7 separate regions of the Homo sapiens genome follow, and all the other regions are linked to region 2. The links are contacts of gene promoters, found by promoter capture Hi-C in blood cells and fetal thymus (Javierre and others, 2016). All regions are on one chromosome and are shown on one strand. Each heading gives the region's core, a stretch centred on a gene start or on the middle of the fragment in contact. The rest is flanking DNA. Distances are from core to core; before and after follow the strand shown. Region 1 has its middle 3.9 kb from the start of LINC02735. Region 2 holds the start of SSRP1 (structure specific recognition protein 1). Region 3 overlaps TMX2 (thioredoxin related transmembrane protein 2). Region 4 has its middle 61 kb from the start of CTNND1. Region 5 holds the start of BTBD18 (BTB domain containing 18). Region 6 overlaps CTNND1 (catenin delta 1). Region 7 overlaps CTNND1 (catenin delta 1).

Region 1 (3,319 bases), core at 480-2,979, 490 kb after region 2:
AGTGAAGCTGCAGACCTTCCCGGTGAGTGTTACAGCTCATAAAGGTGGCGTGGACCCTAAGAGTGAGCAGCAGCAAATTTATTGCAAAGAGCAAAAGAACAAATCTTCCACAGTGGGGAAGGGGACCCAGCGGCAGTGGGTTGCCACTGCTGGCTCTGGCAGCCTGCTTTTACTCCCTTATCTGGCCCCACCCACATCCTGCTGATTGGTCCATTTTACAGAGAGCTGATTGGTCCATTTTGGCAGGGCACTGATTGGTGCATTTACAATCCCTGAGCTAGACACAAAAGTTCTCCAAGTCCCCACTAGATTAGCTAGACACAGAGCACTGATTGGTGCATTTACAAACCTTGAGCTAGACACAGGGTGCTGATTGGTGTGTTTATAAATCTTGAGCTGCACACAGAGTGCTGATTGGTGTATTTACAATCCCTCAGCTAGACATAAAGGTTCTCCAAGTCCCCACTAGATTAGCCAGACACAGAACATTGATTGGTGCATTTACAAACCTTGAGCTAGACACAGAGTGCTGATTGATGCATTCACAATCCCCTAGTCTTACATAAAGGTTCTCCAAGTCCCCACTAGACTCAGGAGCCCAGCTGGCTTTACCTAGTGGATCCCACAGGGGGCTGCAGGTGGAGCTGCCTGCCAGTCCAGCGCCATGTGCCAGCACTAGTCAGCCCTTGGGCAGTCATGGGAGTGGGTGCCTTAGAGCAGGGGGCGGTGCTCATCGGGGAGGCTCGGCCCGGCAGGAGCCCACTGCAGGGGAGGCTCTGGCCTGGCGGGCTGCAGGTCCCGAGCCCTGCCCTGCAAGGAGGCAGCTGAGGCCCAGCAAGAATTGGAGCACAGTGCTGGCAGGCTGGCATTGCTGGGGGACCCAGAGCACCCTCCGCAGCTGCTGGCCCAGGTGCTAAGCCCCTCACTGCCGGGGGCTGGCGGAGATGGCTGGCTTCTCCAAGTGCGGGGCCGCCAAGCCCACGCCCACCCAGAACTCGTGCTGGCCCACGATTGCTGCACGCAGCCTGGGTTCCCGCCCGCGCCTCTCCCTCCACACCTCCCCCTCCACACCTCCCCTTAAGCAGAGGGAGCTGGCTCTGGCCTCGGCCAGCCCAGAGAGGGGCCCCCACAGCGCAGTGGCGGGCTGAAGGGCTCCTAGAGCATGGCCAGAGCAGACACCGAGGCTGAGGAGGCGCTGAGAGCGAGTGAGGGCTGTGAGGGCTGCCAGCATGCTGTCACCTCTCAAAAGGTTTCATCTGTAGCAGGGACAGAAACAGTTACATCCCGTTTGCACCTGGGAGCAGCACAGTTATTGAGGCTGGAGAGAGAACTCACTAACTCCAGCAACAGACATAAGAGTAGTCAGCCATGAGTTGGGTATTGGTGATTCTCACAACTAACTCTGGCTCCAGGAGAAAGAGCAGGAATCAGTCTCAATTGAAGCTGGAGTTCAAGAAGATTTCAGACACATTCTGAGTCCCGATAAAGGCTGAAAGGGAAATATTTGAATGCGGGGGAAGGTAGGGATGAAGAGTGGAAATGGAGCCAAATATACTGTTTCTGTCTTTGTTTTAACTGTTTAATTCTTAATTGTCTTCTTCTGGTTTGAGGAAGCGCTGTTATATACATAAATACAAGATTAATCTTAGCTGGTCTACTGCAATCCTATGTTTATTTCCAGGGATGCTTGGAGCCATTGTTGTCTGGAGGGAGGACTGACTTATTTCCAGAGATTCCTGGAGACACTGCTGGAACCTTAGCCAAATCAGAATAAGCTCAACTAACTGGTGACAAATATTCCTGTGCTAGGACCTGAGACAGGCCAAGTGAGAGATCTGTAGTAGTTTATTAGCTTTGTTCATTAAAAAAACAACAAAAAATTCCAGATTGGTGTTTTTTACCTAGTTTCTACTATGTTCTCTTTGTTTCTTCTGTTCGCTTTTGTCATGCAGCCCAGTTTTGGTTATGAGACCAGACAGATATGAAAGACCACTCCTTGGACAAGACTGTGATTCTCCAGAGCTCAAGTTTTCTTGTATATATCTTAGTAGTTCATGATTCAGATTAAAATCGCATCCTAATCAATTGAGAAATGATCCTGGAAGCTGGGTCTGAAGGTCTTGGACTTTTCTGAGGTTTTCTGTGCTTTCCCCCCACCTACTTTAGAGTATCCTTTACTTTATTAAGACTGTACTCTGTGGAGTCTCATGAGTCGTTTCAGTTGTTCAGCCCTGTGTATTGATGCATCATGTTAGTTTTGTGTTCACTCTGGAATGTGATACAGTAAAAGGTCTATATATTTTTTTCAACTCATCTAAATTGTCTTAGGTCTAGCTGGACTTGATCAAATGGCAATTGAGAAAGTCAGGCTTTAAGTAAGCCAGATATCTGGCTTTTGATTCTCCTCTTTCTCACTGTCTTCTCCTCATTCCCCTTAGATATAGAATACCCTCATAATTTTTCTAATATCCTCCCATCAATGCCTTCTGTGGATTGCTCTAAGAGACTTCCCTAATTCTTTTCTACCCCATTTTCATTAAATAAAATTAGTTTCCAGCCCTCTGCAGCTACAAGACTGTGTTTTTACAAAACTGCTATGACGCATCACATCCTATTAAATCATTCTCTCACCTGATAGACTGTGAAATCTGTGAAAACAGAAGTCCCGTCTTACTCATTTCTAATTCTTAGCCCTGTCTTATAAGAGCAGGAACTCTTTAAATGCATTATCAAAGAAGTCAATGAATTAACAACTAGCTCTTTATAGATAAAGAAGTTCTTTTACTTTGAAGAGTTATTCAAGTGTTGACCGACTGGCAACATTATCTCACAGGTGTAGTTGTATTCCAAATGTAACAATGGATAAAACCTTAAGCTAAAGTAATGCTATTTTAATCGTGGCATGTCACATGTTGACAGACTCTAGGTAACTCAAGTGTTTGCATATGTTTTTAGTGGGGGCACCAGGGACTTTCAGAGAAACTTCAAATGGAGACACATAGATTCTTTTGACCATAAATCCACTTTGGAACCCGGAAATGTCAGTGAATATTCATCTAGTTTAAGTTGGGGTCAATTCTACCCTAAGTGAAATCTCATTATTATTTTTATTGAGGTTATTTTTAGCATGGCACAGGTGGCCACCATGGCATGATAGTCAGTCTAAAGCTCTGCCACCAAATAGCTGCATGACCATGAGTCAGGTTGCTTGTGTGAAATTTTCATTTCCTTATTTGCAAAATAAAAGGTTGAATTCCATAATCTCTGGTGTCTCTGTCAGTTGAATATTTCATGTGACCATGAATACATCATTCAACCA
Region 2 (3,581 bases), core at 835-3,334:
TCTCTTGAAAGTTTTTCTGGGTCTTCTGGGGTGTGATGAGTAAAGAGTCACATATTTCTAACTCCAGCTGGTAATGAGCTTCGCTCTACCTGTAGCATAGCAGTTAGCACGTCTTTTTTGTTTTGTTTTCTTTTTATTATTATTCTTATACTCTAAGTTCTATGGTAAACCTGCACAACGTGCAGGTTTGTTACATATGTATACGTGTGCCATGTTGGTGTGTTGCACCCGTTAACTGTAAATATACCCGTCATTTACATTAGGTATATCTCCTAATGCTATCCCTCCCCACTCCGCCCACCCCGCGACAGGCCCTGGTGTGTGTGATGTTCCCCACCCTGTGTCCAAGTGTTCTCATTGTTCAATTCCCACCTATGAGTGAGAATATGCGGTGTTTGGTTTTCTGTCCTTGTGATAATTTGCTCAGAATGATGGAGTCCAGCTTCATCCATGTCCCTGCAAAGGACATGAACTCATCCTGTTTTACAGCTGCATAGTATTCCACGGTGTATATGTGCCAACTTCTTTTTTTTTTAACTGTCACTTTATTTATTAAAGTCATTTGTTAGATTATGTTTTCCTGAAAGGTTGGGGCTGGGTTTTTTTTTCTGTTTTTTTTTTTTTTCTTTCTTTCCTTCCCTTCCTTTTTTTTTTCTTTTTCTTTCTTTCTTTTTTTTTTTTTTTTTGACAGAGTCTCGCTCTGTCACCCGGGCTGGAGTGCAGTGGCACAATCTCAGCTCACTGCAACCTCTGCCTCCTGGGTTCAAGCAATTCTCATGCCTCAGCCTCCTGAGTAGCTGGGATTATAGGCACCCGCCACCACGCCTGGCTAATTTTTGTATTTTTAATAGAGACGGGGCTTCACCACGTTGGCCAGTCTGGTCTCAAACTCCTGACCTCAAGTGATCTCCCTGCCTTGGCCTCCCCAAGTGCTAGGATTACAGGTGTGAGCCACCGTGCCTGGCCGGGGATGTTTTCACCTTGTTCAAGTTTCCTCAAATCTGAGAAGTGTGCTAAAGTAGTAATAGGCCCTCAATATCTATTTATTAAACCCAGTTGAATTTATTTTGCTAGATAATGCTGGAATAGCCACTACTCAGAGGTTAAAGCTATGAGTTCAGGGGAGAAGGGTGCATTCCTGTTGTCTCTTACCCCAGGATTGATTTAGCAAGCTGGTGTATTGATTGTCAGGGAAATCTTGAGCTTACATATTCTGTACTAATGTCTTCATGTAGGACACATATCAATAGTCATTCTGAACATACAGTCACTGTGATTATGACAGAAGATAACTGGACTGGTGGTGTTAAGGAGGTCTGGGTCCTACCTAGCCTTGTTGCCAACGCACTGAGACCCTGGGCAACTCACTCCCCTTTGGGTCTCAGTTTTCCCATCAGTAAAAGGAGGTTGGGGTAGAAAAACTAAAACATCTTTTCCAGGTCTGGTCTCTGATGTTGCAAAATGCACTCTGGGATTATACGGGGGAGACCTGGCTTCCGCAACCACAGGATGATGTGGTTTCAAATCAGTTCTGGCTCCAAGGTGAATCTGACACCAGGACTTGAACTGGATAAGGCCGTTTGCCAGCCTCTTGGAGGTACCTATAATTTTCGGTTAAGGATGTGAAAATTTTGGGTGTAGACAGTGAACTTGACAGTTCAGCCAGAAAGCAGTGCACCCACGATGACACCAACACCCGCATACTCTCCGCAGCCAGTGGGAGAGGTCGTTTCCTCCCACAACTGTTCAAATACTTCTCTTCTTGTCCCATCGACTCCTTTCCATGACATAGAAACTATTTTGCAGAGAAACGGGCACGCATCATTCCAATACACACCCCCACCCCACCCCTGTACTAAGTCTGATACAATAAAACTACACAATTTCTCTTTAGTATCTAGTCTCGACTGAAGAAGTGTCTGTAGTTTCTAAAGAGCCCTACACACATTTTCTAGGCCGGATTCCCCCTGGGTGAGAGAGGCTTCACGGCAACCACCCTTCCCTCAGGTCCTCCAGAGTCGCTGACGCTCTATGCGACTGTCTCGCAGGCGGGCCCGACTCGCGTCTCTCTAGCCAGCTCATCCTCTCTGTGGCCTGTGTACGGCTTCCGGTGGCGGGACGCGGGGCCGCGCACGCGGGAAAAGCTTCCCCGGTGTCCCCCCATCCCCCTCCCCGCGCCCCCCCCGCGTCCCCCCAGCGCGCCCACCTCTCGCGCCGGGGCCCTCGCGAGGCCGCAGCCTGAGGAGGTAGGTGGTGGTCGTCCCCGGTCCCAGGAAGGCAGGGGCCCCGCTCCCCCACGGGACCCTCGACATGGACCATTCCGCGTTCGCAACCGCGGGGAGCGGGCGAATCCATTATGTGGGGCGGGGGTGAACCGTGGGTCTGGGGCCGCGGGGTGGTGGGAGCGGTGCGAGGGAAACCCTGCACTCTGAGCTGGATTGGGTCGCGTGCGATGTGCGGGCTCCTGGCAGACCCTGGGGTTCCGCTGCTCGTTGCCATGGCTCCCGCCGGAGCGGCCAGAGCGGGCGTCGGGTTGGGTGTCAGCGGTATTCCGGGCCCGGTTCTCCACCCAGGCCTGGACCTGGACCCTCGGGCACTGCAGCGTCCGTCTGTAGGTTTCCAGGCAGAGGAAATCCTGAGACATCCAGGCGCAGCTGGGAGTTGCTACCTGGCTCCATCCGTGAGCACAGCGAGGTGCTGTCTTTCATGCTTATCTGTCTTCCTCTTGAATTCAGATTCCCAACCTGCTGAGCATCCGCACACCCACTCAGGAGTTGGGGCCCAGCTCCCAGTTTACTTGGTTTCCCTTGTGCAGCCTGGGGCTCTGCCCAGGCCACCACAGGCAGGGGTCGACATGGCAGAGACACTGGAGTTCAACGACGTCTATCAGGAGGTGAAAGGTTCCATGGTGAGAATGGCTTGGACAGGTGATACAAGTAGAGAGAAGGAAGGAGGGTAGAGTTTTTGTCCATTAATGAGAGCTTGCTTTGGTAACGTTATTTTGGAAAAAGAAGACTCAGTATAATGTGTACCTAGTGTCTCCACCAACTCAAGGCAATACTGAGAGATAGTCTCAGAGTTATAGGGACCGTATATGCTGTTCAGTTCCCAATTCCTGTTTTACAAATGAGGAAACTGAGAATCTGTTAAGGGTTCTAGATACCAGAGTCTGGTTTAGAATCTAGACTCCTTGGCACCCTCAGCTGTTGCTCCTGCATTGATAATCTGGCCAGTCCACTTGCAGCAGGAATGTGTGTTAGGTAGAGCTGTAGAACCCAGGACATGCTGTGTACTGTCTCCATGCATCTGGGCCTGCTTTTCTTACAGAATGATGGTCGACTGAGGTTGAGCCGTCAGGGCATCATCTTCAAGAATAGCAAGACAGGCAAAGTGGACAACATCCAGGCTGGGGAGTTAACAGAAGGTATCTGGCGCCGTGTTGCTCTGGGCCATGGACTTAAACTGCTTACAAAGAATGGCCATGTCTACAAGTATGATGGCTTCCGAGAATCGGTGAGATGTCCCATGGCTATAAGCCTCCTTTTTACTGCATCTTCTTATTTTAATCTTCTAGAGACTCG
Region 3 (3,387 bases), core at 477-2,976, 380 kb before region 2:
CAAGGCGGGCGGATCATGAGGTCAGGAGTTAAGAGACAAGCCAGGCCAACATGGTGAAACCCCGTCTCTACTAAAAATACAAAATTTAGCCAGACGTGGTGGCAGGCACCTGTAGTCCCAGCTTCTCGGGAGGCTGAGGCAGGAGAATTACTTGAACCCAGGAGACGGAGGTTGCAGTGAGCCAAGATCACACCACTGAACTCCAGCCTGGGCAACAGAGTGAGACTCCATCTCAAAAAAAAAAAAAAAAAAAAGAGGGGGGGTTATTTCAGAATAAATGAATGGAGGAAAACAATGATATAGATAAAACTAAACAGATATAAAAAGTTGGGCAAAGAGGCTTTGCTGCCACCACCAGGAGCCCTGTACTATCAGCCATGGTCAACCCCGTGTTCTTTGACATCACCGTGGATGGTGAGCCCCTGGGCCGCATCTCCTTCGAGCTGTTTGCAGACAAGGTTCCAAAGACAACAGAAAACTTTCGTGCTCTGAGCACTGGACAAAAAGGATTTGGTTGTAAGAGTTCCTGCTTTCACAGAATTATTCCAGGGTTTATGTATCAGGTGGTGACTTCACACGCCATAATGGCACTGGTGGCAAGTCCATCTATGGGGAGAAATTTGATGATGAGAACTTCATCCTAAAGCATACAGGTCCTGGCACCTTGTCCATGGCAATTGCTGGACCCAACACAAAAGGTTCCCAGCTTTTCATCTACACTGCCAAGAGTGAGTGGTTGGATGGCAAGCATGTGGTCTTTGGCAAGGTGAAAGAAGGCATGAATATTGCAGAGGCCATGGAGCGCTTTGGGTCCAGGAATGGCAAGACCAGCAAGAAGATCACCATTGCTGACTGTGGATAAGTCTAGTAAGTTTGACTTGTTTTGTCTTCACCACCAGACCATTCCTTCTGTGCTCTCCTCTCAGGAGAGCACCCCTCTACCCCATTTGCTCGCAGTATCCTAGAATCTTTGTGCTCTCACTGCAGTTCCCTTTGGGTTCCGTGTTTTCCTTGTTCCCTTACATGCCTAGCTGGATTGCAGTTAAGTTTATGATTATGAAATAAAAACTAAATAACAACAACAATAAAAAGCTAGGGAAAGAAAATAAAGAATGAAAACAAATTCTGGCCTCTGCCTCTGCCTCTGCCTCTCCCTCTCCCCTCTCCCCTCTCCCCTCTCCCCTCTCCCTCTCGGTCTCCCTCTCCCTCTCTTTCCACGGTCTCCCTCTGATGCCGAGCCGAAGCTGGACTGTACTGCTGCCATCTCGGCTCACTGCAACCTCCCTGCCTGATTCTCCTGCCTCAGCCCACCGAGTGCCTGCGATTGCAGGCAAGCGCCACCACGCCTGACTGGTTTTCGTACTTTTTTGGTGGAGACGGGGTTTCGCTGTGTTGGCCGGGCTGGTCTCCAGCTCCTAACCGCGAGTGATCCGCCAGCCTTGGCCTCCCGAGGTGCCGGGATTGCAGACGGAGTCTGGTTCACTCAGTGCTCAATGGTGCCCAGGCTGGAGTGCAGTGGCGTGATCTCAGCTCGCTACAACCTCCATCTCCCAGCCGCCTGCCTTGGCCTCCCAAAGTGCCGAGATTGCAGCCTCTGCCCGGCCGCCACCCTGTCTGGGAAGTGAGGAGCGTCTCTGCCTGGCCGCCCATCGTCTGGGACGTGAAGAGCCCCTCTGCCTGGCTGCCCAGTCTGGAAAGTGAGGAGCGTCTCTGCCCGGCCGCCATCCCATCTAGGAAGTGAGGAGCGCCTCTTCCCAGCAGCCATCCCATCTGGGAAGTGAGGAGCGTCTCTGCCCGGCCGCCCATCGTCTGAGATGTGGGGAGCGCCTCTGCCCCGCCGCCCCGTCCGGGATGTGAGGAGCGCCTCTGCCCGGCCGCGACCCCGTCTGGGAGGTGAGGAGTGTCTCTGCCCAGCCGCCCCGTCTGAGAAGTGAGGAGACCCTCCGCCCAGCATCCGCCCCATCTGAGAAGTGAGGAGCCCCTCTGCCCGGCACCAACCCCGTCTGGGAAATGAGGAGCGTCTCCGCCCGGCAGCCGCCCCGTCCAGGAGGGAGGTGGGGGGGGTCAGCCCCCCGCCCGGCCAGCCGCCCCGTCCGGGAGGTGAGGGGCGCCTCTGCCCAGCCGCCCCTACTGGGAAGTGAGGAGCCCCTCTGCCTGGCCAGCCACCCCGTCCGGGAGGGAGGTGGGGGAGTCAGCCCCCCACCCGGCCTGCCGCCCCGTCCGGGAGGGAGGTGGGGGGGTCAGCCCCCCGCTCGGCCAGCCGCCCCGTCCGGGAGGGAGGTGGGGGGGTCAGCCCCCCACCCGGCCAGCCGCCCCGTCCGGGAGGGAGGTGGGGTCAGCCCCCCGCCCGGCCAGCCGCCCCGTCCGGGAGGTGAGGGGCGCCTCTGCCCGGCCGCCCCTACTGGGAAGTGAGGAGCCCCTCAGCCCGGCCAGCCGCCCCGTCCGGGAGGGAGGTGGGGGGGTCAGCCCCCCGCCCGGCCAGCCGCCCCGTCCGGGAGGGAGGTGGGGGGGTCAGCCCCTCGCCCGGCCAGCCGCCCCGTCCGGGAGGGAGGTGTGGGGGTCAGCCCCCCGCCCGGCCAGCCGCCCCGTCCGGGAGGGAGGTGGGGGGGTCAGCCCCACATCCGGGAGGGAGGTGGGGGGGGGTCAGCCCCCCGCCCGGCCATCCGCCCCGTCCAGGAGGGAGGTGGGAGGGTCAGCCCCCCGCCCGGCCAGCCGCCCGGTCCGGGAGGTGAGGGGCGCCTCTGCCCGGCCACCCCTACTAGGAAGTGAGGAGCCCCTCTGCCCAGCCACCACCCCGTCTGGGAGGTGTACCCAACAGCTCATTGAGAACGGGCCGGGATGACAATGGCGGTTTTGTGGAATAGAAAGGGGGGAAAGGTGGGGAAAAGATTGAAAAATCGGATGGTTGCCGTGTCTGTGTAGAAAGAAGTAGACACGGGAAACTTTTCATTTTGTTCTGTACTAAGATAAATTCTTCTGCCTTGGGATCCTGTTGATCGGTGACCTTACCCCCAACCCTGTGCTCTCTGAAACATGTGCTGTGTCCACTCAGGGTTAAATGGATTAAGGGCGGTGCAAGATGTGCTTTGTTAAACAGATGCTTGAAGGCAGCATGCTCGTTAAGAATCATCACCACTCCCTAATCTCAAGTACCCAGGGACACAAACACTGCGGAAGGCGGCAGGGTCCTCTGCCTAGGAAAACCAGAGACCTTTGTTCACTTGTTTATCTGCCAACCTTCCCTCCACTATTGTCCTATGACCCTGCCAAGTCCCCCTCTGCGAGAAACACCCAAGAATGATCAATAAAAGAAAAAAAAAAGAAAACAAATTCTAAGAGGTTATAAAAGGTTTATGGAAATTTTATCTTGTCTAGTCAAAGCTGATC
Region 4 (3,193 bases), core at 386-2,885, 490 kb before region 2:
CAGGAAATGATGACCCAGAGATGAGCTTGAATAGCCCAATGCTTCCCTGTGACCTCTCCTACTCTAAAGCCAGTGGTACCTAAAAATGATAACATCTTCATGTCAAAGGGTAGCCTCCAGCTTCAGTCCAGCCCTACTCTGGGTCAAACCCTTTTAGGATATGGGGAGGATACTCAGACAAGTAAGACTTTGCAATTTTTTTTTTTTTTTTTTTTGAGACAGAGTCTTGCTCTGTCGCCCACGCTGGAGTGCAGTGGCATGATCTCGGCTCACTGCAACTTCCGCCTCCCGGGTTCACGCCATTCTCCTGCCTCAGCCTCCCGAGTAGCTGGGACTACAGGCGCCCACCACCACGCCCAGCTAATTTTTTGTATTTTTAGTAGAGATGGGGTTTCACTGCATTAGCCAGGATGGTCTCGATCTCCTGACCTCGTGATCCGCCCACCTCGGCCTGCCAAAGTGCTGGGATTACAGAAGACTTTGCAATTTCATCAGCAAAATATGAAAGCATTTGTACTGACTGTGTCTTTAAGCCAGGCTGACCAACTCACTTACCAGCCAATTTTTAACTTTGCTTTTATAGAAATTGTCTTGGAGCTATTCCCTTTGTCCCTATTCTTGTTCTTCACTCTGCTCTTTGCTGCACACATCTACTTAACTTGCCACACGCTATACCCAGTGCTGTGATATAAAGGTGGGGGCTTCACCACTACCTACCACCACTGCCCTGCAGGCTCAGCTTGTTCCATCAGATGCAGCACCAGTACTAACCTTGCCCATACTCCTTTTGCTTTCTTCCCTCTCTACTTGTTTGGAAGTTATATGTCCTATATTCATTCTTTAGTGGTTATTCCAGCTAATATGTATTAGGTTGGTGCAAAAGTCATTGCAGTTTTTGCCATTTCAATGCAATTACTTCTGTACCAATCTATTTAGTTTTTCAAGTCTTATCAGTATCTTTACTTTCCTCCTGAAGAACCCGAAAATTAGTGTTGTAATTGCTCCCTCAACTTTACATGCTATTGTTGTCCAGCATTTTAATTCTAGTCTGTATTTCTCTCCCATAAATTACACACTCCTCTTACAGTGAAGGCTTTAGCAATTTCGTTCAGTGTTCCTTCTTGCATCTGATTCTCCATCTGAGATCATTTTCCTTCCACCTCAAGGACATCCTTTTGTAAGTGGAAACTCTGCTTTTGTCGGAAAATGTTTTTAGTAGCTTTTTAAAAAGTGTCACCTCAGGTAAGCTTTCATAATAAGTTCCTTTTTCTCTTAACATGATGAAGATAAATTTCACTGTTTCCTGGCTTTCATTGTTGACACAGAAGTCACCATCTGGCTGGTTTTCTACAGGTAGTCTGTATTTTCTCTCCAGATGCCCACAATCTTTTCTTTGGTTTTCTGCATCTCACCCTGATGTACTAGGTAAGTTGGTTTATCTTGCTTGAGATTCACTGGGCTCCCTAAGTCTGAGGTTTGGTGCCTTTCATCCAACCCTAAAAAATTTCTCTTTGAATATTGCCTCCTCCTATCTCCTGATGTTCCAAATAATGTTTATTAGATCTTATTCCATTGTTGTCTCAACCTCTTGCCTATTTTCCATTCTCTATCTGGAGTGCATTCTGTATAATTTCTTATCTTCCAATTCACAAATCCTCCTTCAATTTGTCTAATCTATTTAATCCATGCATTGACTTCTTACCTCAAATTTGTATTTTTCACTTCTAATTCAAAAAGGTTTTTCCACTAATTCAAAAAGTTCATTAATCGTTATTTCATTATAGTCTGTGCAACAATGCCAACATCTGAAGTATTTAAAAGATCAGCTTCTGTGTCTGTCTTTTCACTCATTGTGCCTTATTTCTTTGTTCAGTTTATAATTTTTGGGCAAGAGCACTCATTTGCCTTGAAAGTATATCTATGGGAATTGTTCTGAGGCCTTAGAGGAATTGCATTTGCTTCTGAAAATCACCTGGAAGCATAAACAAATGAGTACCACTTTAAATTCCCCAGTTAAGCTTTTTGGACCACACAGGTAGCCTAAGTTTGGACTGAAAGCCCATAGAAGGCCATTTGTGGTTATAAATCATCAGGGAAAATATTCTATAGTTTCCATGTGCCACTAAGGTTGAGACAAATGAGTTCCTTGCTGCGCCCTTCTATGGAGTGTTTATTTCTTGTTCACCTTTACACTGAGGGTGTCCAGCTTTATGAGGGAACCTACTAGATTTCTCATTTCCTGTTGCCCATACTTTGTGTAATCACTAAAATAGAAGGTTATGGTCTGCTGAATTTGGCAAAAATTCTGAGGAAAAGCTGGCTTTGGCAGTTACTTCCTAGGATTCCAGCTTTTGCTTCATTTTGAAGAGCCGTAGGTTCCTTACTTTCGTGCCTGCTCAGCAATATGTTTAAAAGTATTTTTTATAAATATATTTACCCAGTATCTTGGTTGCTTCTGCTGAAAGGACTTTTCAGAATTATCTAATCCAGCATACTGCCAAAAACAGAGCCCTGAATTAGTTTCAAATACGCACACCAACGCACTCCCCCTGCCCCGATTCTGCCAACGCGTGAACTGTAAGACCAAAGCTAAGCCTGCCTTTAAGGTGGAAGGAAAAGAAGAATTGAGGTGAGCCAGGCATGGTGGCTCACGCCTGTAATCACTACACTTTGGGAGGCCGAGGCAGGCAGATCACCTGAGGTTGGGAGTTCAAGACCAACCTGACCAACCTGAAGAAACCCCGTCTCTACTACAAATACAAAATTAGCCAGGCGTGGTGGCGCATGCCTGTAATCCCAGCTACTCCAGAGGCTGAGGCAGGAGAATTGCTTGAACCTAAGAGGCGGAGGTTGCAGTGAGCCAAGATTATGCCATTGCACTCCAGCCTGGGCAACAAGAGCGAAACTTCACCTCAAAAAAAAAAAAAAAAAGAATTGAGGTGAAGACAAAAATTGGGTAATTGACTGGAACATCACCACAAATATCCCATATTTCTTTTTCCTCAGGCATAAATGTCTTATGGCACTGTCCATTAGCACTAGAGATACTGGGGGAAAAGACAGCAGGGTAGTAATACTTTTGTGTCCTCAATAAAAGTGGAATAACCTGTCTTTTTTAAAAAATAAAGTAGTATATGGAGATAAGTATAGCACTTTTTCTCAGGTAAAAAAAAATTTTAAAGCTAGTTGCCAC
Region 5 (3,565 bases), core at 1,022-3,521, 420 kb before region 2:
CATCCTGGGCAACATTAATTACCTTTTTTTTTTTTTTCTGAGACTGAGTCTTGCTCTGTCACCCAGGCTGGAGTGCAGTGGCGTCATCTCGGCTCAGTGAAACCTCTGCCTCCCGGGTTCAAACGATTCTCCTGCCTCAGCCTCCCGAGTTGCTGGGATTACAGCACGCGCCACCAGGCCCGGCTAATTTTTTGTATTTTTGTAGAGACGGGGTTTCACCATGTTGGCCAGGCTGGTCTCTAACTCCTGACCTCGTGATCCGCCCCCCTCAGCCTCCCAAAGTCCTGGGATTACAAGCGTGAACCACCGCGCCAGGCCTAATTAACATTTTTTTAAAAAATCATCTCTGTAACGATAATGGAGACCGTTCGCGGGGGCGGGGGGGGGGATTTTCTGCAAAACCCCTGGGTCATTAGTTCTCCAAGATTTGGGGTTGGAGTGGAATCAGTGAAGAAACTGAATTCAGAAACTGCCCAAGGACCTTATTCCATAACATCTCTGGTCTTAGGAGATTTCTAAATTAGCCATATGGGGGACCCGGTGTTACCAGAGCCATCCAGAGACTTCCATCACGAAACATGGAGCGCTCCAGGCAGAGCCAAGGGCATCTACTGCCTCTTCAAAGGGAAGACGGACATGACCCTTAACCGCCTTGGCGCCTGCTCTACTACAGCATCCCTACCCTCTTTTTCGGTGTGTTTTCATCAAGTGCTGAGGCAGACGACGGCTTTCACAAGAATTCCTCCCTGACGGGCCCATCCCCCTGCCTCTTGCAGCCCAGCCATCTTCCCTCAGCCCTCAAGTCCCTCGAGACTTAGCCTCCCGCCCAAAGCGCTCCTCCTGTTCTGATTGGTTCTCCCGGGAGCCTTCGGCCAATGGGGATGACGTATGCCGGACGACGTAGGCCCGAGGACTCGGGAGGAGGAGGGGCGTAGGGCTCTGCGACGCGCAGCGCGCTAGGACGGTGGCACGAGGTGTGTGGCGCTGGCCGCGTGGCCTTACAACCCTCGCTATCACTACCACCCAGTGCATGTGGGTGCTGAAGCCCGCAGGGATACAAGGGCGCCAGGGGCTGCCTGCAAAGTCTATGCTGGCGGAGGTGGCCGTGACGGGAAGTCCTGACTTTGGGCCTCCCGGATCCCCACGGTCCATTCCCAGAAACCCTCGCGCCTAGGAGTCTTTCTTCAAAGGAGTTGGGCCAGGGCGCCCAAGCGTGCGGGCCACCCCGCTTTGCAGGGCTCTCCCTGAAGCCCTGCTTTCTCCGCCAACACCGATTCCCTTGCTTCTGGATGGGGAGGTGAAGCACTCAGCCGTTGGCCCACCTGCGCATCTTTGCTCAGCCTCCTGACTCAACGCTGAACATTGAGAGGAAGCAAGGCAGGCTGGACAGAGGACAAGCACAGAGAAGGCAACAGGAGCAAAGTCTACCGAAAAGCTATTTCAAGTTGGGTCTGGAGGCAAGGCCAGGCGATCGTGGATTGAGAAGCTTCCCCAGGGCCCTTGCAACAGCTGCCATCCTCCATCCACATCTCTCTCACTGGGATGGGAATTTTTTTTTTTTTTTTGAGACGGAGTCTCGCTCTGTCGCCCAGGCTGGAGTGCAGTGGCTCTATCTACAACCTCTGCCTCCCAGGTTCAAGCGATTCTCCCACCTCAGCCTCCTGAGTAGCTGAGATTACAGGCGCCTGCCACCATGCCCGGCTAATTTTCGTATTTTTGTAGAGACGGGGAGTCACCATGTTGGCCAGGCTGGTCTCAAACTCCTAACCTCAGGTGATCCACCCGCCTCGGCCTCCCAAAGTGCTGGGATTACAGGCGTGAGCCACCCCGCCCAGCCAAGCCCGCCTTCTCTTAATTTACCTTTTCATTCTTCTTTCCTGATAGTTTTGACGTGAACTGTTCGGACCCTCAGTGCTACCTGATAGAAAACTGCATTCCAGGAAAGGAACACAGCTGTGCAGTGAGTGGGGGGGTTTCGGAGCTAAAAAGCTGGACATAAGCCTGAAGTCAGAATACTCAGTTTGTTTTGGGAGGGGTAAAATGCTTTACTATCCTTGCTGCATTGTTAGCCTGGTAATTAACTATACAAACGTAAAGGCCAAATTCTTTGCCTACTACCAGGGTCAGTCAGGCTCGCTTTGGTCAAGTACACCCAGCCAAGGGTGGCAACGTCCTTGGTTCTGTGAGAGACCTTCCCGCAGAGTCAGAGGCTTCTCTTCTTTATTGTGCACCCTCTGCTGGTTAGTGTGATACAGTGAGCTCAGAGAAAAGGCGCATACGACTTACTAGAGATAATTTTATACCCAGTAATGTTTCCTTAAAAGTGTTAACTTGAAGATTATACCTGTGGAGCTGGGATGTGGTGCTCAGGAAGAATATAAGTAGTCAGCATTGTAGCAGTTGAGTCTCAGTGGTAATGGAAATGAGGAAGGTTGAAGGATAATAATAGTTACCATTTGGGGCTTGGTAGTTATTTTGTGCCAGGCACTCACTGTGCTAAGCAACTTTACCTTCACTGACTCATTTAATCTTTAAAACAACCCTACAAGGTAAGTACTATTATTCTATTTCATGGATAGGAAAGTGAGACTCAGAGAAGTTAGGTCACCTGTGTGAGATTATACAGCCAGGCTAATAAATAGAGCCAAGACCCAAACCTAGGCTTATCTCTGAGCTCCCACATGTAACCACTATGATAATTTTCTTTCTTGAGATATCCTTGGCACAATTTCTGGGCTGATGTTTCCTCAACTCATACTATTATCTCTCACTTTCAAAATTCCCCTGCCATTTCAAAGACAAAAAACAAATTAGATGTAACCATGCCTCTGAAATGTATTATCTCACCTACAGGAGTCTGATCTGTGAAAACCTAGAAGGTTTGTTAAGACTCTTGCCAACATGTGCTCTCCTGCCAGTCCCAAAATCCTATACAGGAACCCCCGGTTCCTCAGGTTAGCTTTTCTGCAGCTTCATCACCAGCAGCAGAGTGATGTGTTCTGTGATGTCCTTCTGCAGGCAGAAGGTAAGAGAGTGGTCGGAATTCAACTGAAAACTCACCATAGAATAAGATAAAATGAGTTCAGAGCCAGAGGGTAAAGGACAAAATCAGCAAAATATTACTGCCTATGACCACTGTAAACTATTTGGTAAAGGGCTGTTTGTTTCTAGGACAATTACTACTGTTTTCAAGAGTGAAATTGTGACTTTGCTTCTTTCTCTTAAATAATGAATCTAATTGTAAAGTTTTATAAGCAGATACATTCTATATAACATGGATAATATTCCAATGGGATGGTTGTGAAGATTAAGAGTTAATGTGGGTAAGCACTTAGAATAGTGCTTTTAATATACTAACCACAATATGTGTTAGATGATACTATTATGTTTTCTTTTTGAGAGTCTCACTCTCTTGCCCAGGCAGGAGTGTGGTGGCACAATCACAGCTACCTGCAACCTCCACCTCCTGGGTTCAAGTGATTCTCATGCCTTAGCTTTCTCAAGTAGCTGAGATTACAGGCATGCGCCACTACGCCCAGCTAACTTTTGTATTTTTAGTAGAGAT
Region 6 (3,549 bases), core at 934-3,433, 450 kb before region 2:
TTTTAAATAGACTATCTTTTTACCCTTTTATTTGTTCCAACTCAGGATAAATATCCAAGTATCTAGAGGGTCTATGTGTGCTATCTATACAATAAAAGATAGTTATATAAAAATGAAGAGTTCTCCATACCATTATATAAACAGGAGGTTTTACAGGCATTAGTGATACTCTGTTGGACTCAATGGGTTTTTTTCTCTCTTATAGCTATGAAAGACTTTATGCCAGTCCAAAATATACAATGTTGAAAGACAGGTTTTGAAATAAATATTCTCCCCAATTCCCACCCTCTCACCAACCCATAAAGAAAAAAGGTATTTAAAAAGATTTTTTTCTGCTATGACATGAAAGGAATAAAAATACATATTTCTTAAAAAGTAAGATTTTTCCTTCTTAATAAACATATTTCCATACACACCTGTTAAGAGAAGGTCGCAACTGATTGGTTTAACACAGAGAACAGCCCAGTCTAGATTCAAAAAATCATGGAAGAAGCATCCCAGCCACCACAGCAAGGAGGAAGCAGGAAGGAGAGAGCTGCAGAAATATTTGAAGGAAAAATGGGAATGAGAGGAAAATAAAATATACCCAATACATAAAAACAAGAAGAGCAAGGGGCAATATTAGGAATGAAAGGAAGTAATTTAAAATATGACTTGGAATTGCTTAATGTGACAAGTGCCCTTTAGACCTTGTTGTGTTCAGATACCTAGGCCTTGGATGTCATTTTCATTAAAACCTGGATTCTACTGTCAAGTGAGAGCTCCTCTATTTGTATTTCCATATATAACCAGGAACAGGTTATAATATGTATAAAAATCCATTTACCCTGTTTCCAGCAACCAAATTGGGGAAAAAGAAAAAAACTGCTGTTGGAATGCCCTTCCCCCTCCCTTCCCACCCCTAAGGCAGAAACCTCAAAGCCCAGTCCCAGCATGCCCACAAAGACATTGAGAAACCAATGCAAAAGTTGTGTGGGGAAGACATGTGGGGACTAGCCTAGGCTGAGCCTTTTGCTTCAGTTCCCTTTCCCACGCTCCCCAGAGCCCCACCAAGCACAAATGCCCGGGCCTGTTTGGCTTAGAGTGTATGCAGAAGTCAGCAAGCAAGAGTACCCAAAGGAACTGATAAGTAAGTGTCCAATAAACTCCTGAATCAATCCAGTCCCTAAGTTTAAAGAACGTGGTTGCCCTTCCCTAAATTCCTCCTACCCCAGCTCGAAGTTCCCATAATCGCCTATCAACTCTTCTTCCTTTCAGTCCAAAACCCATTGCCACTTTCTCATATTCCCACCCTACATTCCAACAGGCCACTCAAAGGTCTTTCTTGAATAAGCACCCTTATTTTAAAAAAAAAGGTGCTCCCCTTTCATCTCCATTTCTTAAGTACTTGCCCTTATCCACTATGTACAATGACCTATGAACCTTCCACACCAAGAGGACTCTGAGCTCAAAAAGAGATTCTTCCAGTTACTGAATTTCAACAGGGTCTGAAGTGCAATTACCACTCCAGCAGCATCCACCCTATAATCTTCTTTGCTAATAAAAGCCCAAATTACTGCTACCACGGGGGATACAGTGACATTCCCTGCTGCAAAGAGAAAGTGTATAGATGGCCATAAATGGCCCTGCAACTTAAATTCAGTGAAGAAGGTTAGGAAGGGAGATAGGAAAAATACTCAGGGCTCTAGGTCAGAAAGCAGTATCTGGAGAAACATTAGCTTCCACCATCTTCACAGCTTTAAAGCTGACCACCTGGCTCTAATTTGGAAAAGAAGACAGCACAATTACACAAAAAGATCAGATTCCTAGGTCTAAAAGCATGGGGAGATATTCTGCCTGAAAAAGGACAGAAGCAGAGGCCATATGGGATAGAACACAACTCAAGAAGACTGGTCCCAGTTCTGGCTCTACTACTACCCAACAATGGCAGTAAACCCTGTCATATTCTCACTTGTAAGATGCCAAATCCATTTGCCCCGTTTCCAGGAACCAAATTGGGGAAAAAGAAAAAAAATTGCTGCTTCCCAGGAGTTAGGAAATTAGCCCGGTCTAACTCAGAGTTGTTGTGAGGATTAGGTGAGACAATGTATGTTATATACAAATGTCAGGTATTAAGTTGTTTCAAAAGTTGGTTTAACACTTCCAATTACATTACTTCACCGTAATGTCTCAGCCTCAAACTATTTTGTGAACTAGTAGATGAAATCAACTGGATCAAAAACATAACTAGGTTCTAAGGAGTGAATGGGCTGGTTTCCCTACTCCTAATCTATTTACTAGAACGTCCCACCTATACCAGTGTTTCTGGGACAAAGGACACTTCTCTAGTGCCTGGAAGTCATCACATCATTACACATCTGTCATAATAAGTTCTTGATTCTGTATTTGAGGCCTTAACAATTTATTACCTTGGAGAAAGGGAATGTGAAACTAATGATTACTGAATGTTTTACATTTACTATCTTGGCAATCCTTACAACAACCCTAAGGAAGTTTTATTGCAAATAAGACTCATGGGTGAAGAAACTACCCAAGGTCTCACAGTTAATAGCAAATTTTGAATTTAAACCCAGGTCTATGCCATTCCAAAGCCTGTGTTCTCTTTCTATGCCATGGTGTCAAGTCCAAATAGAAGTGCAGTCAGTACCAGATGGATGGTCCAGAGCCTCTCCTCTACAACCTTTGAGAGCTTTCTTCTCAACTATCACAGGAAAACAGGGAAAGAAAAGGGTTCTACTTTGTTTTTTTAGGCTCAAGAGTTACCCATAATATCTACATAGAAGTGAGAAAACAGAAAAAAAATGGGAGGAAAAGGAATGTATGAGTGGGGAAAGAATGAAGCTGTTAGGCAGGCTACAGTAAATGGTCTCATCGCTTGGAGACTTAAGGAAAAAAGATTCTTCTCATGCCATATGCATCAAAAAGATCACACTACAAACCTTCAGCTGACTTTGGCAGACAGTCAGGAGTCGTAATTACAAGTCCAGCCCAATGCCTTTCCAGCTTTGCCACTTACATTTTTTATTTATTTATTTTTTTGAGATGGAGTCTCGCTTAGTGGCCCAGGCTGGAGTGCTGTGGTGCAATCTCAGCTCACTGCAACCTCCACCTCCTGGGTTCAGGCGATTCTCCTGCCTCAGCCTCCCGAATAGCTGGGATTACAGGTGCATGACACCACACCGGGCTAATTTTTTGTATTTTTAGTGGAGACGGGGTTTCACCGTGTCAGCCAGGATGGTCTCGATCTCCTGACCTCATGATCCGCCTGCCTCAGCCTCCCATAGTGCTGGGATTACAGGCGTGAGCCACGGCAGCCGGCCTCCACTTACTTAGATTTTTAAATAGACTACATTTCCTCTCACCAAAAAAAAAAAAAAAAAATCAAAGAATTCCTGAAGTCAGGGGGTTGAGGAAACATAAAGTGAAACTTGTTATTCCCCCTTAAGACTAGATTTTCTGAGAATACCTAGTTTTACTCTCAATAAGCCATTAAGTCCTACATTACTGGATCCCACCCACACTAGAAAGATATTCCTGCTATTACCCAGA
Region 7 (3,662 bases), core at 265-2,764, 470 kb before region 2:
CTTGTTCCAGCAGGGGACTATTCAGAAACAAGGATAGAAAACAGGCAGCAGATAGGTAAGATGAGGATGACCACTGTTGATGCTATTGTCCTGAGTTCTGATAATGGGGACTGCTGCCCAGAAACAGCATGCCGTGAGCTATTAGCTCCAAAGAGCTAAACTTGTTTCAGTGTCTTCCTCAACTGAACTTTCCTACATGCATAGACAGGGAAAGGTTAGGCAAGGACATACTAGGGAAGCTAAAATCAAAACATGCAAATTAGAAGTAGATAAGCACCTTAAAAGACTCCACTCACCTCTGGAGAACCACTCATCTTCCAGTGCATCACCCAAGGTAGAAAGCAGAGAAGAGAAATGAAATAAGAAAAATGCAGGAGAAAGATGTCAGCAGAATCATGGGCAAATAAGCAGGGAAGCACAGAGAAGAAAAGAAAAACACAGAAAATGCAAAGGACGTATGGGGAAGAAGGTCCCAGATTAGTTGAGTTCTCATTTTCCACTGCCCCACTCATTGATACCACCACCACCACCACCACCACCACCACCAACACATCACAACCACCATCCCATCACCACACCTTGAATGAAGCACACAACACAGGGAAAGCAGCAAACCAAAAAGACATCCATAACCAGGCAGACTCCCATACTGTTGCCAAGTATTTTGTACCTTAAGCTAAAGTGTTCCTTCCTTTCCCTATCCCACATTAAAGACTAAGAAACAGGAACCAAGACTCACCTTTGCCCTTCTTGGCCCCAAAGCAACTGGCAGCATGTGGCCCAGTATTGTTGGCAACATTGGGAGCTGCCTCTTGGTAACGCTCTGCCTGTGGGATCTCCCGGTGAACTTGATATGATAAGTTCCGAAGAAGGCAAACACAGTTCTCTACAAGCTTAGGGACATAAAAGGGCCAATGAGAAAAAAGAATGTCTATTGTGATTTCTCCACAAGTACAGGTTTCCATGACTCAGGTATTAAAATGTTGATCTTCAAATGCATAACCCAATCCATAACTTCTCAGGATGCCTCTTAAGTGCTCCAGGCTTCTTGAAATCCCGGTAGCCTCAGGCTAATGGAAGGTCCAACTATGGACTTATTGGCTTCTGCCACTATTTGGTGTGTGACTGAAATTGGATCATCATTCTTACTACTTAGACAATGTACAATTTTGGAAGACAGCTAAGCAGCTTTAAAATACATAGGTGACAGATTTAAAAAAAAAAGAAAAAAAAGCCGGGCACAGTGGCTCACACCTGTAATCCCAGCACTTTGGGAGGCCGAGGCGGGTGGATCACCTGAGGTCGGGAGTTCAAAACCAGCCTGACCAACCTGGTGAAACCCTGTCTCTACTAAAACACAAAAATTAGCCGGGCATGGTGGCAGGTGCCTGTAATCCCAGCTACTCAGGAGATGAGGCAGAGAATTGCTTGAACCCAGGAGGGAGAGGTCGCAATGAGCCGAGATCACGGGACTGTACTCCAGCCTGGGACAGAGCCAGACTCCATCTCAAAAAAACAAACAAACAAACAAAAAACATGTTTTAAGTTGAATACCCACTTTAAGGAGTAAGGGCTTGGCTGGGCACAGTGGCTCACGCCTGTAATCCCAATGCTTTGGGAGGCTGAGGCAGGGGGATCACGTGAGGTCAAGAGTTTGAGACCAGCCAGGCCAACATGGTGAAACCCCGTCTCTACTAAAAATACAAAAATTAGCTGGGTGTGGTGGCACACGCCTGTAATCCCATCTACTTGGGAGGCTGAGGCATGAGAATCGCTTGAACCCAGGAAGCAGAAGTTGCAGTGAGCTGAGATCACATCACTGCACCCCAGGCTGGGCAACAGAGCAAGACTCTGTCTCAAAAATAAGGGGTAGGGGACAGTATAAATATTTAATGTTACTTGAAAGCCTGAGATGATAGGTCTCTGACCTACAGATACTTCATAGTTGTGGTGAATGAAATTCACTCAGCCATTAAAGGTAAGACAGCACTTACCTTGCTGTCTGAATCCTTCTGCCCAATCTCAGCCTGAACAATGAAAATGAGGGCATCAACTAAACCATCACATTCCCGAAGTTTCCGGCGAGCTTCACTCCTCTCTGAGCTTACATTCCTGAGGGGAAACCAGAAGCTTCAAGATGACTCAAATCCAGAAATCCTCCCTTAAATATCCCTCAACACCTACAAGATTCCTGAATATGTTTTTCTACTCACTGTAATAGTAAATACCTATTATAAGCAAGGTACTGCAGTTGAGAGAAAGTTGATTAACAGTCCCTGCCTTCTGAATGTTTATATCACTGTGGGGTAGGGATTAATGATATGTACCAGATGCAGTAATTCAAGATGGAATATATACTTCTCGTATGGAAGTATATAATACATATGTAGAATGGAACACAGCACACAGAGGTGTATTCCAAAGAGAGAAAGATTATATAGCAGCATTTATAGGATATAAAAAGAATTCAGGAAAACTTTAATAAAATAAAGGCACTTGAGTTTAACCACAAAAAGATAAATAAGAAGAGAAAGGCATCACAGAAAGAACAGACCTTCCTCACCCATGCCCTAACCTCCTAGTACTCTGTACCCCTTTTGCTGAATTTATCACAGCCTGACTTGAAATACAAATAACTAGGGCAAGGACATAGACACACACAAGTCCAGGACTAGACCACCTTACATGTGGTAGATGCTGAACAAAAGCTTACCAAAGTAGATGAACAAAGTCAAAGAGGCATAAAAGTGAAGAGGATGTGTGGGGAACAGCAAGAAAACTGATATAGGTACATGTGGTATACATGAGAGAATAGCAACAAAGATAGAAAGGTTGGAGTTACAGTATGCAATACAGATAGGAATGGAGGCTAAAGAATAGGCTAAAGAATTTTAATTTTTTTTTTTTTTTAGGAAATTTAAGTCAGTCCTCAAAAATTCATCTTCATATTCTCAAAGTCCCTACTGTTACCTAAGGCAGCCAGCTGTGTTGGTGAGCACCGATTCCCACTCAATGTGGCGTGGCTTACAGTCTTCATTAGGTTCCCGCTCCCAACCAGAATGAGGAATGATCACTTCATCTGTCAAGGCATGCAGTGCATGGTCCACAATCTCCATTTTGATTGAGTCATGGGATGAAAGATTCCACAGGGTTCCTGGAAGAGACAATTCATCAGATGGCTCTTGAGCATTCAAGACAATATGTCTGAAGAACGTCAAAGAGAATCCCCCTATCGTATCACTTCTCAGTCTTCCCCAGTGACCAAATACCTTATAGTAATATTCAAGCTTTGTTTGCGACCCTCACCAAGAAACATATTCTACATTATAGCTCAAAATAAACATACAGATCATGAAACAAACAATGTTTAACTATAAGCAACGCTCAGGCTGGGTGTGGTGGCTCACGCCTGTAATCCCAGCAATTTGGGAGGCCAAGGCGGGCGGATCACAAGGTTGGGAGATCAAGACCATCCTGGCTAACACTAAAAATACAAAAAATTAGCCGGGCGTGGTGGCGGGCACCTGTAGTCCCAGCTACTTGGGAGGCTGAGGCAGGAGAATGGCGTGAACCCATGAGGCGGAGCTTGCGGTGAGCTGAGATTGTGCCACTGCACTCCAGCCTGGGTGACAGAGCGAGACTCCATCTCAAAAAAAACAAAC

Evidence for each region. Contacts are between HindIII fragments. The CHiCAGO score rates a contact against its expected background, and 5 or more counts as called.
Region 1: a fragment that was not itself captured here is called in contact with the fragment with the promoter of SSRP1 in region 2 in 4 of 17 cell types (M1 macrophages, endothelial precursors, M0 macrophages and 1 more); the score reaches 8.8 in M1 macrophages.
Region 3: a fragment that was not itself captured here is called in contact with the fragment with the promoter of SSRP1 in region 2 in 11 of 17 cell types (non-activated CD4 T cells, fetal thymus, total CD8 T cells and 8 more); the score reaches 9.5 in non-activated CD4 T cells.
Region 4: a fragment that was not itself captured here is called in contact with the fragment with the promoter of SSRP1 in region 2 in 1 of 17 cell types (M2 macrophages); the score reaches 5.1 in M2 macrophages.
Region 5: the fragment with the promoter of BTBD18 here is called in contact with the fragment with the promoter of SSRP1 in region 2 in 15 of 17 cell types (activated CD4 T cells, naive CD4 T cells, total CD8 T cells and 12 more); the score reaches 18.9 in activated CD4 T cells.
Region 6: a fragment that was not itself captured here is called in contact with the fragment with the promoter of SSRP1 in region 2 in 2 of 17 cell types (activated CD4 T cells and non-activated CD4 T cells); the score reaches 5.4 in activated CD4 T cells.
Region 7: a fragment that was not itself captured here is called in contact with the fragment with the promoter of SSRP1 in region 2 in 11 of 17 cell types (total CD8 T cells, fetal thymus, activated CD4 T cells and 8 more); the score reaches 11.2 in total CD8 T cells.

Annotation. Positions count from the first base shown.
Region 1 is chr11:56,842,927-56,846,245 of GRCh38, reverse strand. No RefSeq gene overlaps it. Among named protein-coding and RNA genes, the nearest start is that of LINC02735, 3.9 kb to the left of the region's middle. The HindIII fragment of the contact is 4,094 bases long and covers 1-3,319 here.
Region 2 is chr11:57,334,395-57,337,975 of GRCh38, reverse strand. SSRP1 (structure specific recognition protein 1) reads left to right here and starts at 2,084. Exons shown (of 17, transcript NM_003146.3): 1 at 2,084-2,246; 2 at 2,736-2,908; 3 at 3,328-3,513. The coding sequence starts at 2,855. It also overlaps a transcript of P2RX3 not described here. RefSeq lists enhancers at 1,946-1,995, 2,846-2,915 and a silencer at 2,166-2,345. The HindIII fragment of the contact is 4,158 bases long and covers 1-2,146 here.
Region 3 is chr11:57,715,521-57,718,907 of GRCh38, reverse strand. The region is part of intron 1 of TMX2 (thioredoxin related transmembrane protein 2); the gene reads right to left. The region is part of intron 1 of TMX2-CTNND1 (TMX2-CTNND1 readthrough (NMD candidate)); the gene reads right to left. It also overlaps the pseudogene PPIAP42. Among named protein-coding and RNA genes, the nearest start is that of TMX2, 4.6 kb to the right of the region's middle. RefSeq lists an enhancer at 2,845-3,355. The HindIII fragment of the contact is 5,340 bases long and covers 1-3,387 here.
Region 4 is chr11:57,821,574-57,824,766 of GRCh38, reverse strand. No RefSeq gene overlaps it. Among named protein-coding and RNA genes, the nearest start is that of CTNND1, 61 kb to the right of the region's middle. The HindIII fragment of the contact is 771 bases long and covers 1,250-2,020 here.
Region 5 is chr11:57,750,525-57,754,089 of GRCh38, reverse strand. BTBD18 (BTB domain containing 18) reads left to right here and starts at 2,271. Exons shown (of 3, transcript NM_001145101.3): 1 at 2,271-2,549; 2 at 2,854-3,025. The coding sequence starts at 2,902. All of the region lies in intron 2 of TMX2-CTNND1 (TMX2-CTNND1 readthrough (NMD candidate)), which reads right to left. The HindIII fragment of the contact is 11,151 bases long and covers 1,489-3,565 here.
Region 6 is chr11:57,786,023-57,789,571 of GRCh38, reverse strand. CTNND1 (catenin delta 1) reads right to left here. Exons shown (of 21, transcript NM_001085458.2): 2 at 417-535. TMX2-CTNND1 (TMX2-CTNND1 readthrough (NMD candidate)) reads right to left here. Exons shown (of 21, transcript NR_037646.1): 3 at 417-535. Among named protein-coding and RNA genes, the nearest start is that of CTNND1, 26 kb to the right of the region's middle. RefSeq lists an enhancer at 850-1,029. The HindIII fragment of the contact is 4,789 bases long and covers 1-3,549 here.
Region 7 is chr11:57,803,113-57,806,774 of GRCh38, reverse strand. It overlaps CTNND1 (catenin delta 1), which reads right to left. Exons shown (of 21, transcript NM_001085458.2): 8 at 2,971-3,154; 9 at 1,995-2,112; 10 at 740-893; 11 at 297-314. It overlaps TMX2-CTNND1 (TMX2-CTNND1 readthrough (NMD candidate)), which reads right to left. Exons shown (of 21, transcript NR_037646.1): 9 at 2,971-3,154; 10 at 1,995-2,112; 11 at 740-893; 12 at 297-314. Among named protein-coding and RNA genes, the nearest start is that of CTNND1, 43 kb to the right of the region's middle. The HindIII fragment of the contact is 1,237 bases long and covers 896-2,132 here.